2 separate regions of the Homo sapiens genome follow, and region 2 is linked to region 1. The links are contacts of gene promoters, found by promoter capture Hi-C in human tissues and cell types (Jung and others, 2019). All regions are on one chromosome and are shown on one strand. The core of a region is centred on a gene start or on the middle of the fragment in contact, and the rest is flanking DNA. Distances in the headings are between cores, read along the strand shown. Region 1 holds the start of MTNR1A (melatonin receptor 1A). Region 2 overlaps F11-AS1 (F11 antisense RNA 1).

Region 1 (6,202 bases), core at 2,550-5,049:
ATTAGCACAGTTTCTGATGAGAAATCAGCTGTTAGTTGGATTAATTGCTAACCAGTACGTAATATGTAACTTGACTTTAATTGCTTTTTATCTTTGGCTTTTAGCAGTTTGACTATGCTGTGCCTTAGTATGCTTGTTTTTGTTTATTCTGCTTAGTATTCATTTTGCATGTACAAATTTACGTCTTTCCTAAAATTCAGGAAAATTTCAATCATGATGTCTTCTAATATTTTTTCTGCACCATTTTATTTCTACAGCTAGTATTCTAATTAATATAATCTATAAGAATTGTAAGCTTTGTTCATTTTAAAATATATCTTTTCTCTGTGTTGGACAATTTCTGTTGGTTTATCTTTAAGTATACTTACTCTGTCATGTCCATTTGGCTAGTAAGTCCATTGAGTAAAGAATTAATTTCAGAAATTGTATTTTTCAGTTCTAGAATTTCCCCTTCGTTCTTTTTTACTGTTTTTATTTCTTTCATGGGAGTTCCTATTTCTTTGCTGAGATTGTTAGTTACAACATTTTGCTCATTTAGGGACTGGATTTGATTGATCTTATTGTATCTTAAAGAATGTGTTTAGATAGATGATAGATAGATAGGTAGATAGATAGATAGATAGATAGATAGATAGATAGATAGATAGATAGACAGACAATGTTTTCATACGTTAAATAATTTTGAATGTACCATGGACATACGAATCTTACACTGTGGGTATTCTAGATGCTATTATTTTTCTCTGTTGAGTTTTCTTTGTCTCAGTAGGCAGTGTTCTTGGCTAGGCTGGAACTGGAACTGTTTTCTTGTGTGGCAGCTCCAGCCTCAGTTCAGGCCTTTTGCTCCAGTTGCTTCCTTTGGGTCTATTCCTCACGTGCTGGGTTCAGGGATGCTGGCAGTCAGAGTCTGGGCATTCCCTCTCTGGGTCTTTGTTTTCCAGGATTTCACCATCATTTTCAGTGCTCGTGGTTTCCCAGCTTCACCTTTCTCATTCCCCAGGGAAGAAAGATCATGAATGTTGTTATGTGCACCCCAGCATTATGTATGCCACCCCTTTTGGGGGAGAGTTAGCCATCTATGCCTTTGTATTTCATCTGTTGATTTCACAAATTTGTGTATCAAAACCCCAAGTATAGGAGTTTTACCTGTGACAAACAATGCAGGGAGAAATAACGGTGTGTCCTGACACATGTGGACACTGTTCAATTGTTTTCTATTAGTAAAACGACTAGCACCATGTATGCAGTTTGAAGACGTCCATATCTGGTGCACAGGAATGCTTTTTCTCCACGTGTTTCAAACCACACTTGGCACTACCAATATAATGTTTTCTAAAGTGATCGCTGGAATGGAAGCTTTCTCTTTTTTTTAACTTTTTTGCTAAAAGAGGTTACACATACATTTTTAGTTTTTGTCTAATTATGACCTTTAAATATATTTCTATTTTTTTTCCTTAGCTCTTTATATAATTGTCTTAGTCTGTTTTCCATCACTATTACAGAATACAGCAATACCTGGGACTGGATAATTTTTTTTTTTTTTTTCTGAAGCAGAGTCTCTCTCTGTCTCCCAGGCTGGAGTGGTAATTTTTTAAAACCCACTCTCACTGTAACTAATCCAGTCCCAGGAGAGCAAGAACTGACTCATGCCTGCAGAATTAACCCAGTCAGACAGAGTGGTATAACCCTCTTGACCTGATCGCCTCTTGAAGGCCCCGCCTTCCCCTGGGGACCAAATTTTCCACACACAAATTCTGGGGACATGCTGAAACCATAACAATAATGAAGACCATTAATGCTTCGTCTCTTAGCTATGTCACAAATCATTTCCCCAGTTTCTCTAGCTTTCACTTGTGTGTGGTATTTTTTGAATATAGGACTTTTAACTTTTCCGTAGTCAAATCTATCACGACCGAGAAACACTATCACTTAGTAATGAGGCTCCTTGCTTGGCAGTCAGAGAGACCTGAGTTCCAATCCTGCCTCTACTTGTTACCAGCTGTGTGACTTTGGTACATTGCTTAACCTCTCAGCACCAGAGGTTTCTCGTCCATAAAATGGTCGCAGCAGTGCCAGACCTTCTGGAATTGTTAACACATTGTGCAAACAATGGTTGTAAGATACCGATGCCAGAGATGGGAAGTGACACACGCTGTCCATGGCAGCTGCTACCTTTTCTATGGTTAGGATTATTTCCTGTCTGTCTTTTTTCCAGGCTTACAGAGTGCTTCTCTACCTCAAGTGATATGTATATTTACCTACATTTTCTTTAAATGCATTTTTGTTTTCGTGATCTATCCCAGCCCTACTGATTTGAACTGTTCACTTTATAAAATCTTTATTTTATATGCTTTTTCAAATTGTTTATGAGCTCAATACTGTTTTAGTTTTTTTTTTTTTTTTGAAACGGAGTCTCATTCTTTTTGGCCCAGGCTGGAGCGCAGTGGCGTGATCTCAGCTCACTACAATCTCTGCCTCCCGGGTTCAAGCGATTCTCCTGCCTCAGGCTCCTGAGATTACAGGCGCCCACCACAATACTTGGCTAATTTTTGTGTTTTTAGTAGAGACGAGGTTTCACCATGTTGGCCAGGCCAGCCTCAAACTCCTGACCTCAGGTGATCCACCTGCCTCAGCCTTCCAAAGTGCTGGGGTTACAGGTGTGAGCAGCCGTGCCTGGCATACTTATTGTAATTTTTTTTTTTTTTTTTTTGAGACAGAGTCTTGCTCTGTCTGCCAGACTGGAGTGCAGTGGCACGATCTCGGCTCACTGCAATCTCCGCCTCCCGGGCTCAAGCAATTCTCCTGCCTCAGCCTCCCGAATAGCTGGGATTATAGGCCTGTGCCACCACGCCCGGCTAATTTTTGTATTTTTAGTAGAGACGGGGTTTCACCATGTTGGCTAGGCTGGTCTTGAACTCCTGACCTCAGGTAATCCGCCCACCTCGGCCTCCCAAAGTGCTGGGATTGCAGGCGTGAGCCACCGTGCCTGTAATCCCAGGCGCCACTTAATTGTAATTTTTAATGAACATTTTGATACTGGTAGGTCATACTTCTCTCCTATTCATCTTATTCAAATCCTTTTCCTACACTTTCTTTTTACTCTTTCAAAGAAACTTTAGGTTATTTGATATTTTTCTTGGTCTGGCATAAAGTATATGAGGAAAATGAAAATTTCAGGCTTCGAAGCTAGGAACACTGTTTGTCTCTCCGTTTATTTAAATTTCCTTTCATGGTTTTCATAAAGTTTTTTCCTCACTGCACACAACTGGTTAGGCCATTTCCTAGCACTTTTACATTGCTGCCATGTATCCGATCCACCTAAGTGTGCTTTCTTTCTCATTTTTACTGGTACTTACAGAAGTACATACATTTTTATCATCTGCAAATATTGAGTTTTACTTTTTTCTTTGAAAATGTCATTTCATTATCGGAAACATCTAGCACCATCTTAAGCGGTGCAATACACAACGGAAGACAGTCCTTGGTTTTTTCACATTTTACTAATTATGAGGCTAACAGGTGAGATAGTATCTTATTCCCATTTTGCAGATAAGGAAGATAAGGGCGGTGGGGCACACAGCTGGTGAACTCGCCCCAATCCCATTTCGCATTTGATCCCAGGCAGCCTGGCCCTGCTGGGTGAAAAGTCCCATCCCAGAGAGGAAACACAATGAACGGCCTCGCCGTGCGCCCACGAGGAGAGGCCTCTGGGACACCGTCCCCAGGGCGCGGCGGCTGGGCCCGGCTTCCCGCACCGGGGCGCTGTCGGCCCGTGGTGCGGGGTTCGAGCTGCGGGCGGGGAATCCAAGCGGGCTCGCGGCGGACACCAGGTGTCACCTGGCCGTGGCGTCCGGCGCGGCGTGGGCGTCCGGGGGCGCGGCGTGGAGGAGCGCGCGGGATGGGGCGTGGGCGCGGGGAGCGCCGGGCGGAGCCTTAACAAGTGGTCGGGCGGGCGGACGAGGCGGGCGATGGCCCCGCGGCCGGGACGCGCACAGGGACCATGCAGGGCAACGGCAGCGCGCTGCCCAACGCCTCCCAGCCCGTGCTCCGCGGGGACGGCGCGCGGCCCTCGTGGCTGGCGTCCGCCCTGGCCTGCGTCCTCATCTTCACCATCGTGGTGGACATCCTGGGCAACCTCCTGGTCATCCTGTCGGTGTATCGGAACAAGAAGCTCAGGAACGCAGGTAGGGCCCGCGCCGCCTCCCCTGGGCCAGCGCTCCGGACGCAGCGCCTCTCCGCGGGCAGCCAGCCTTCCCCAAGCACTTGGTTCTTTTTCCTAAACACTGCGGACTTGGAGTTATTTTTCCTGTTAGAGAGGACTCTTCTCCAGCCTGCCCGTTGAAAGTGCCTTTTCATAAGGCGCGGAGTCACAGCCCCTAAGAGGTGGGACACTCCACCAGAGTCGGGTTCTCTTTCCTATGGGGACACCCCCGTCTGGTTGTCCTGTCTGAGGTTTATTAGATTGAGAAGCCTCAGGTCCAGGCTGCAGAAAGTTCCTCAAGCAGCCTCTGCAACGAACTGATCAATTGCTTGGTCTTAACATGTGATTTAGTTTTCCCAACATTGTTAAAATATGGAAACATAGAAGCTGGCAAAATGATGGAGCAGCCGCCGTGGTCTTGTTGTTCGGGAGTAGTCTGCAGTTACGAGCCTACAGTGGAAAGAGAGGCTCCCAAACGTGCTGTGTCCGGCAGGCGGCGGCTCCTCCAAGTAAACAAGTTGACACTTTAAAAACGGAAGTTGTTGTGTTAGAGTAGGCAGGTAGCCAGGCGTGAGCAGGAAAGAGTACACTTACGTATAATATGCAACTACAGGTAATTGTGTGCTTGAGTTAACTTGCTTTTTCCTCCGAGCAATGCATTGAACTGGTTTGTTCTGGTGGGAACCTGTGGACACTTTGTTCTTAGGATGCTGGATGTTCAGACCTCTGAGTGATGATTAGATGCTTGGTTCTCTGAAGAAACTAGTTTTTTATTTGGAGGCACTTTTGGGAGAAGGGGCGGGGAACGAAACGTGCACTTAACATGTCTGCCAAGATCAATATTTTCGTTTTAACCAGGTGGTTAAGAAAAGCTCTAATTTTGCTTAGCTCCTTTTGGGGAGGCTCACCCCTGCCCTGCCTCCCCCACCCGCCCCCAGTAGTGCTTTTACGGTTTGTAGTTTGAGAATTAGTTAGTTAAGCACTTAGTAATATGAATTGAGTTTGAGTCAGTAAATTGAATAAGCTCACTTCGTAGGTGATTGATATAAACTGGAGGAATTCTGCCTTCGAGAAGAGGCTCTTTCCTTCCTAGCAATAAAAACGACTTTCTCTGGACCAAACAGGTTGTGAGCACTGGGTTAATTGAATCCTAGTGCAGCCTTGTGCTGTGGCGCCGTGGTCAACTCGCCTTACAGAGGAGAAACTGGGGCTGCAGATTGTTCCCAGGGACTGTAGGTGTGAGCCCGGTTGAATTCCCAGAGCTGGCCTCCAGAGCTCGCCCTGCTTCCTTGCTGTCAACACCTGCAGCATTTGGGAAGTTTGAATCCTGCAGAACCTTTAAAAAGTGTTCACGGCTGGGCGCGATGGCTCAAGCCTGTAATCCCAGCACTTTGGGAGGCCGAGGTGGGTGGATCGCCTGAGGTCAGGAGTTCGAGACCAGCTGGCCAACATGGTGAAACCCCGTCTCTACTAAAAATACAAAAAATTAGCTGGATGTGGTGGCCCACAGCTGTAATCCCAACTACTTGGAAGCCTGAGGCAGGAGAATCGCTTGAACCCGGGAGGCGGAAGTTGCAGTGAACAGAGATTGTGCCATTGCACTCTAGCCTGGGCAACAAGAGTGAAACTCCATCTCAAAAAAATAAAATAAAATAAAAAGTAAAAAATGATCACGCCTGAACAATTTTACTTCTTGTGTTTTCTGAAGAAGAACTTAAGAACTCCTTACACTCACTTTGTATTTTATTTGCTAAGACGTGCTCTTAAGAGGATATTCCTGTAGCTGCATGGGAGACCCTTAGTGACCTTTAATCCGCACAGCTTTAGAAGTTCCATATTTTTCTAATAGGGATTTTTTGTTTATATGTGCGGTTCAAGCCATTTGAGGATTTCTGGAATGGATGGTAATTTGAAACAGTGATAAGGATAGCTGATTCAAATATAAGTTTTGGTATGCTTATTAAAAGTTTTGATGATCTTCAGACCTCTCATTTCAGCTAA
Region 2 (6,202 bases), core at 2,059-4,558, 240 kb after region 1:
CAAAGTAATAATATGAAGAAGACACACAGGTAGCTTCAAGGTATTTTGAGAGGATGAGTTCACAGGTGTTTATTTTATTATTGTGCTTCATAATAGGTAACATATAGCTTACTTATGTTCTTTTGCCTATATCAAATATTATAAAATACTTTTAAAGAATTATTATTAAGACATTATTTCTTTAGCCAAACAAATGACTTTGAATCAAGCATATTAAGTAGCTTCTGTAACACCTTATTTCCAAATAGCAACAGCAAATGAGGCCGCACCAGATAAAGAAGCCAGGAGACTTGTGTCAAAACCCACTTCACACACGGATTGGCTCTGTGAATGTAGGTGAGTCATGCAACTTCTCTGAACCCCAGTTTGCCATCTATAACATGAAGATTAAAATAAAATTCTGTCCTGTCAACTTTATAAGCCTATTACAAAGAGGTAATATAATAGTGATTTGAAAATTGTTTAGTGTGAAGGTGCTATTATGTTAGTAAGTAAATGTCATCGCCCACGTGTTGTAAAATTTTGATATGCAGCGTTGTAGACATAGAACAGCAAATGGGAGCAACTTCTACAAAGAGTGGCAGCTGGAAACATTTTCTCCCAAAAAGGCGCTGACTGATGACCGTGGAGCATTGAGGAGGGACTCCGGAAAGAAAAACCAAATTATCTTGGTTTCAATGCAAATGTGGGGTCTTTAGGATTTTGAAACCGTTACTGTGACTAATAATAACAGTGGCAGCATATATAATAAAATGAGTCCTGAAGTGAGGTTTAGAGCCACAGCTTGAACTCAACTTTATCACTGATTAGCTTTGTGACCAGGGAAACTCAATCTTTGAGCACCTCTTACTCCACATCTGTAAAGTGCGGCTGATTTTATGAGCACTGATGTTTTCTCCAATGCTGATACTATATAATTCCAAGGCTCTGTAGAAATTTGTTTGACAATGAGCTGAAATGTGCAGTAAAAAAAAAAGACGATCCTCACAAACAACGTCTTGAATGTTTGGCTTTTACAATCTCCTAAGTGGTTTTACATGTCACCTTCTTTCAGACGATCCCAAAATTCCAGCACATTACAGAACGTACTATTTGATCATCCTTATAATGCCGTGTTTCTTTTCAAAACCAATACTGAATACTGAATTCATCCATCAGTCTGTGCTTGGATACTTGAGCGACATGAAACTATTTCAGAAGAGAGCCGAGTCCCATTGTGAGTGGTTCTTACTAGTAGAAATTATCTTATGAGAACTCTATCTAATGTTATAACCATCTGGAGGCACTTGGCCATCTGCTCCCCATAGATTTTCATCTGCCCTTTCAAACCAGCCCTATGGCCAGGCACTGTTCCTGCTATTTTCCACACGTCATTTGTCCCAGCTCACTCAAGCAGTCTGGACCCGGAGTTCAGGCTTACCCATCACGTTTTGTGTAGTAGGACTTATTTCCAAATCGGTGTACACTTTTAAAAATTAGTAGACTTTATTTTATAGAGCAGTTTTAGATTTGCAGAAAAATTAAGCATAAAATACAGAGGGTTCTTATGTATTCTTCTCCTACCCTTCCAGGTTCTCCTAACATCTTGCATTAGCGGAGGACATTTGTTAAAACTGATGAACATATTGTTACATGATTCTTAGCTAAAATCTGTAGTTTACATTAGGGCTAACTCTTGGTTACATGTAGATGTTATGGGTTTTGACAAATGTATAATGACATACAACCGTCATTATAGCATCATGCTGAATAATTTCACAGCCCTAAAAACCTCGTGTTCCACCCATCCATCCTTTCCTTCCACCTCACAAATCCTAGACAATCACTGATTTTTTTTTTTTTAGACGGAGTTTCACTCTTGTTGCCCAGGCTGGAGTGCAATAGCACGATCTCAGCTCACCACAACCTCTGCCTCCTGAGTTCAAGCGATTCTCCTGCCTCAGCCTCCCGAGTAGCTGTGATTACAGGCATGCATCACCACATCCAGCTGATTTTTTTGTATTTTTAGTAGAGACAGGGTTTCTCCGTGTTGGTCAGGCTAGTCTCGAACTCCCGACCTCAGGTGATCTGCCTGCCTCAGCCTCCCAAAGTGCTGGGATTACAGGCATGAGCCACCGCGCCTGGCCACTGATTTTTTTTTTACTATTTCCATACTTTTGGTTTTTCCAGAATGTCATAGTTGGATTGACGCAGCATGCAGCCTTTTCAGATTGGCTTCTTTCTCTTTTTTTTTCTTTTTCTTTTTTTTTTTTTTTTTTTTTTTTGAGACAGAGTCTCACTCTGTCACCCAGGCTGGAGTGCAATGGTGCGATCTCGACTCACTGCAATCTCTGCCTCCCAGGTTCAAGTGTTTCCCCTGCCTCAGCCTCCTGGGTACCTGGGATTACAGGTGCATGCCACCATGCCCAGCTAATTTTTGTATTTTTAGTAGAGACGGGGTTTCACCATGTTAGCCAGGATGGTCTCTATCTCCTGACCTTGTGATCCGCCCACCTCTGCCTCCGAAAGTGCTGGGATTACAGGTGTGAGTGCCGGGCTTAGATTGGCTTCTTTCTCTTAGCAATATGCCTTTAAGATTCCCCCATGTCTTTTAATGGCTTGATAGCTTGTTTCTTTTTATTGCTAAATAATATTCCATTACAACCTTGTCCTACAGTTTGTTTATTTATTCTCCTATTGGATAACATCTTAGGTGCTTTCTAGTTTTGGCAATTATGAGTAAAGCATATACAATCTACATTCAGGCTTTTATGTGTGCATAGTTTTTCAGCCCTTTCGGATAAATACCAAGACATGCATTTTCCATGTTATATAGTAAGAGTTTATTTAGTTTTGTAAGGACAAAACAATGAATGAGAGCTCCTGTTGCTTCACATCCTCTCTAGCATTTGGTGGTGTCAGCATTTTGGATTTTAGCCATTCTAATAGGTATGTAGTGGTGTCTTATTGTTGCTTTAGTTTGCATTTCTCTAATAACATGATGTTGAGCATCTTTCCATATGCTTATTTGCTACCTGTATATCTTGGATGAGGTATCTGTTCAGATCTTTGGCTCATTTTGTAATTGGGTTGTTTGTTTTCTTATTGTTGAGTTTTAAAAGTTCTTTGTTTGTAATCCCAGCACTTTGGGAGGCCAAGGCGGGAGGATCACGAGGTCAGGGGATCGAGACCATCCTGGCTAACACAGTGAAATCCCGTCTCTACTAAAAATACAAAAAAATTAGCCCAGCATGGTGGCACATGCCTGTAGTCCCAGCTACTCAGGAGGCTGAGGCAGGAGAATCACTTGAACTGGGGAGGTGGAGGTTGTAGTGAGCTGAGATCGCACCACCGCACTCCAGCCTGGGCGACAGAGGGAGACTCTGTCTCAAAAAAAAAAAAAAAATAGAGTTCTTAGTGTATTTTGGATTCAAATCCTTTATCAAGTGTGTGTTTTTGCATGTCTGTGGCATGTCTGTTCATTCTCTTAACAGAGTTTTTTGCAGAGCAGAAGTTTTTGATTTTAATGAAGTCTGACATAATTTTTTTCTTTCATGGACCATACTTTTGGTGTTGTATCTGAACAGTCATCGTCATACCCGAGGCCACCTGGATTTTCTCCTATTATCTTCTAGGAGTTTCATAGTTTTACATTTTACATTTAGACTTTTGATTCATCTTCAGTTAATTATTTGTGAAATATGTAAGAAATATGTAAACTCTGTCTAATTCATTTCTTACGCATGCAGATATTCCAGAGCCATTTCCTGAAAAGACTATCCATTCTCCACTGAAACGTCTTTGCGCCCTTTTCAAAGATTGCTTGATGGGATCTGTGCGGGTGTGGGCTGTCTACTCCGTTCCGCTGCTCGATTTGTCTATTTCAAAGATTGCTTGATGGGATCTGTGCGGGTGTGGGCTGTCTACTCTGTTCCGCTGGTCGATTTTTCTATTCTTTCACCAATACCACATTGTCTTGATTACTATAGCTTTACGATAAGTCTTGAAGTTAGGTAATGTCAACTCTTCAACTTGGTTCTTTTCCTTTAATATTGTGTCTAGTCATCTGGATCTTTTGCCTTTCCTTGTAAATTTAGAAGATGGGTCTTGTTAAGGAGCACAAAATGCTCTGGGCATATCTCAAAACGGCTCCCTTTGGGAAGCAAGAGGGGATTTTTCTCTTTTCTCACCATGAGAACCGCAGGGCTTCTGGAGGTAAAACTCACAAAAGTGTGCCCCCACCCCAGACCAGGCCCCCTTCTGGCATTTTTAATGCTCAAGCTTATCTACAAGAGCCTTCAGAAATTTGTCAATTGCAGTCTAAGTTTTCCTACCCCAGTACTGGCTCCAGTGGCGATTGCTGCTCCTGGGCTGTGTTTGAATTAAGCTATAATTCTCTGGGTTTGTCTGTCTGCCTCTCCAATTTTAAGGCGGTGGCATGTCCAGTGACCTCAATTCTCTGACGGATCCAAGAAAAGTTGCTGGTGTCCAGTTCATTCAGCTTTGTTCCTGTTGTTAGGATGTGAGGGATGATGTCAAGCTCTTTATGTGCTGGACTGCAAATCAGAAGTTCAGAGTACACTTTTGCAAATGAGAGGCATTTCTCAATGAAATAATAAAGCTTATTTTAAAAAATAAAATAACTTTTTCTTTAAAGTATGCTTAGGTATGAACTTAGTACCATTCATATTGCTTCTTTTAATTTGCATTCATTGTTGTTTTACTTTAGTGATTATTAGAACAATGTATTGTTATTAAATAAAATATCATGTGGTATTTTTTTAAAATAGTCCATATAATTTCACCATTCATCAATAATCATTGTTAATATTTTCATGTATTTCATTCTAGTACAATCTAATTTTCCTTCCTTCCCTCTCTCCCTCCTTCTCTTACTCATTTCTTTCTTTTCACCTACCTATATATTCAAAATGCTTGTTATGGCACATATGTGTATATATATGTGTACGTGTGTATATGCACAAGTGTACAATTTAACTTTATTCTAATATGTAATAACCACATTTAATGTATAATTATATATACATATTATGCATATAAACTAAGCTAATTCTATCTATCTATCTATCTATCTATCTATCTATCTATCTATAATTTTAATCTAGTCCTAGATTTGAGTCGAAGTCTTCCTTCTCATTCACACTGATTATCTGGCAGTCAGTGCTCTTGGGATTGAAATTTCAGGCCAGCATGGCATCCCAAATTCTCTGCGTTTCCTCTAAAGATTCCAACTGTGCAAATAATTGCTGAAAGTAAAATGCTTCAAAATGTAAAAATAATGATGTAATACAGAAAAGTGACTAATTCTACCATTTTATTAAATAAATGGTATTTCATTGAGAATCAATTCTATAATTTTACTTTTACCCAAATAGCTCCAAAATATATATTTGCATATATATATAGAAAATATATATGCATCTATTATATATAATAATATATATTTATATAATTTATAATATATATTTTAATATATTTTATATAATTTATATAATATATAATATATAATTAGATGCATATATTATATATGTATAATAGATGCATATATATTATATATATATAATAGATGCATCTATTTTTATATATAATAGGTGCATCTATATTAATAGATTCATATATATAAAATAGATGCATCTATAACTTAGATGCATGTACATATGCAAATATATGCATCTATTTATTTTTGAAACAGCATCTTGCTCTGTTGCCCAAGCTGGAGTGCAGTGGTGCGATGATGATAACTCTCTGTAGCCTTGACCTCCTGGGCTCAAGCAGCTCTCTTGCCTCAGCTTCCTGAGTAGCTGAGACTACAGGTGAGTGCCACCACACCCAGCTAATTTTTTGCTTTTGTAGAGACAAGGTCTCACTATGTTGCTCAGGCTGGTCTTTAACTGGGCTCCAGCGATGCTCCTGCTTCAGCCTGCTGAAATACTGGGATTACAGGCGTGAGCCACTGCACCCAGCCTTGCATTTGTTTTACTAGAATACTTATGATTTAGTGAAATGTGACCTCTATGACTGCTATAGTAGCTGTTGAATGTGAGCCCACTCCACTCAACACAAGGATTCAGTGGATAAGAAACTCCATCTCTACCAATAAATCCCTTCACAGGTGTTGATGGTGTTATAGCTTGAATTTCTGCTGCCTCAAAAAATGGGGTAAATAGGAAAGCTAAATATCACCAATTTTGTTACAGTGTAT

What was found. The method cuts DNA at HindIII sites, captures the fragments that hold promoters and counts their contacts. A contact is called where the count stands out against the background at its distance.
Region 2: a contact is called between a fragment that was not itself captured here and the fragment with the promoter of MTNR1A in region 1, in 1 of the 25 tissues and cell types used here (H1 embryonic stem cells).

Annotation. Positions count from the first base shown.
Region 1 is chr4:186,553,164-186,559,365 of GRCh38, reverse strand. MTNR1A (melatonin receptor 1A) reads left to right here and starts at 3,799. Exons shown (of 2, transcript NM_005958.4): 1 at 3,799-4,184. The coding sequence starts at 4,001. The HindIII fragment of the contact is 6,800 bases long and covers 827-6,202 here.
Region 2 is chr4:186,313,809-186,320,010 of GRCh38, reverse strand. All of the region lies in intron 1 of F11-AS1 (F11 antisense RNA 1), which reads left to right. Among named protein-coding and RNA genes, the nearest start is that of F11, 51 kb to the right of the region's middle. The HindIII fragment of the contact is 4,467 bases long and covers 1,075-5,541 here.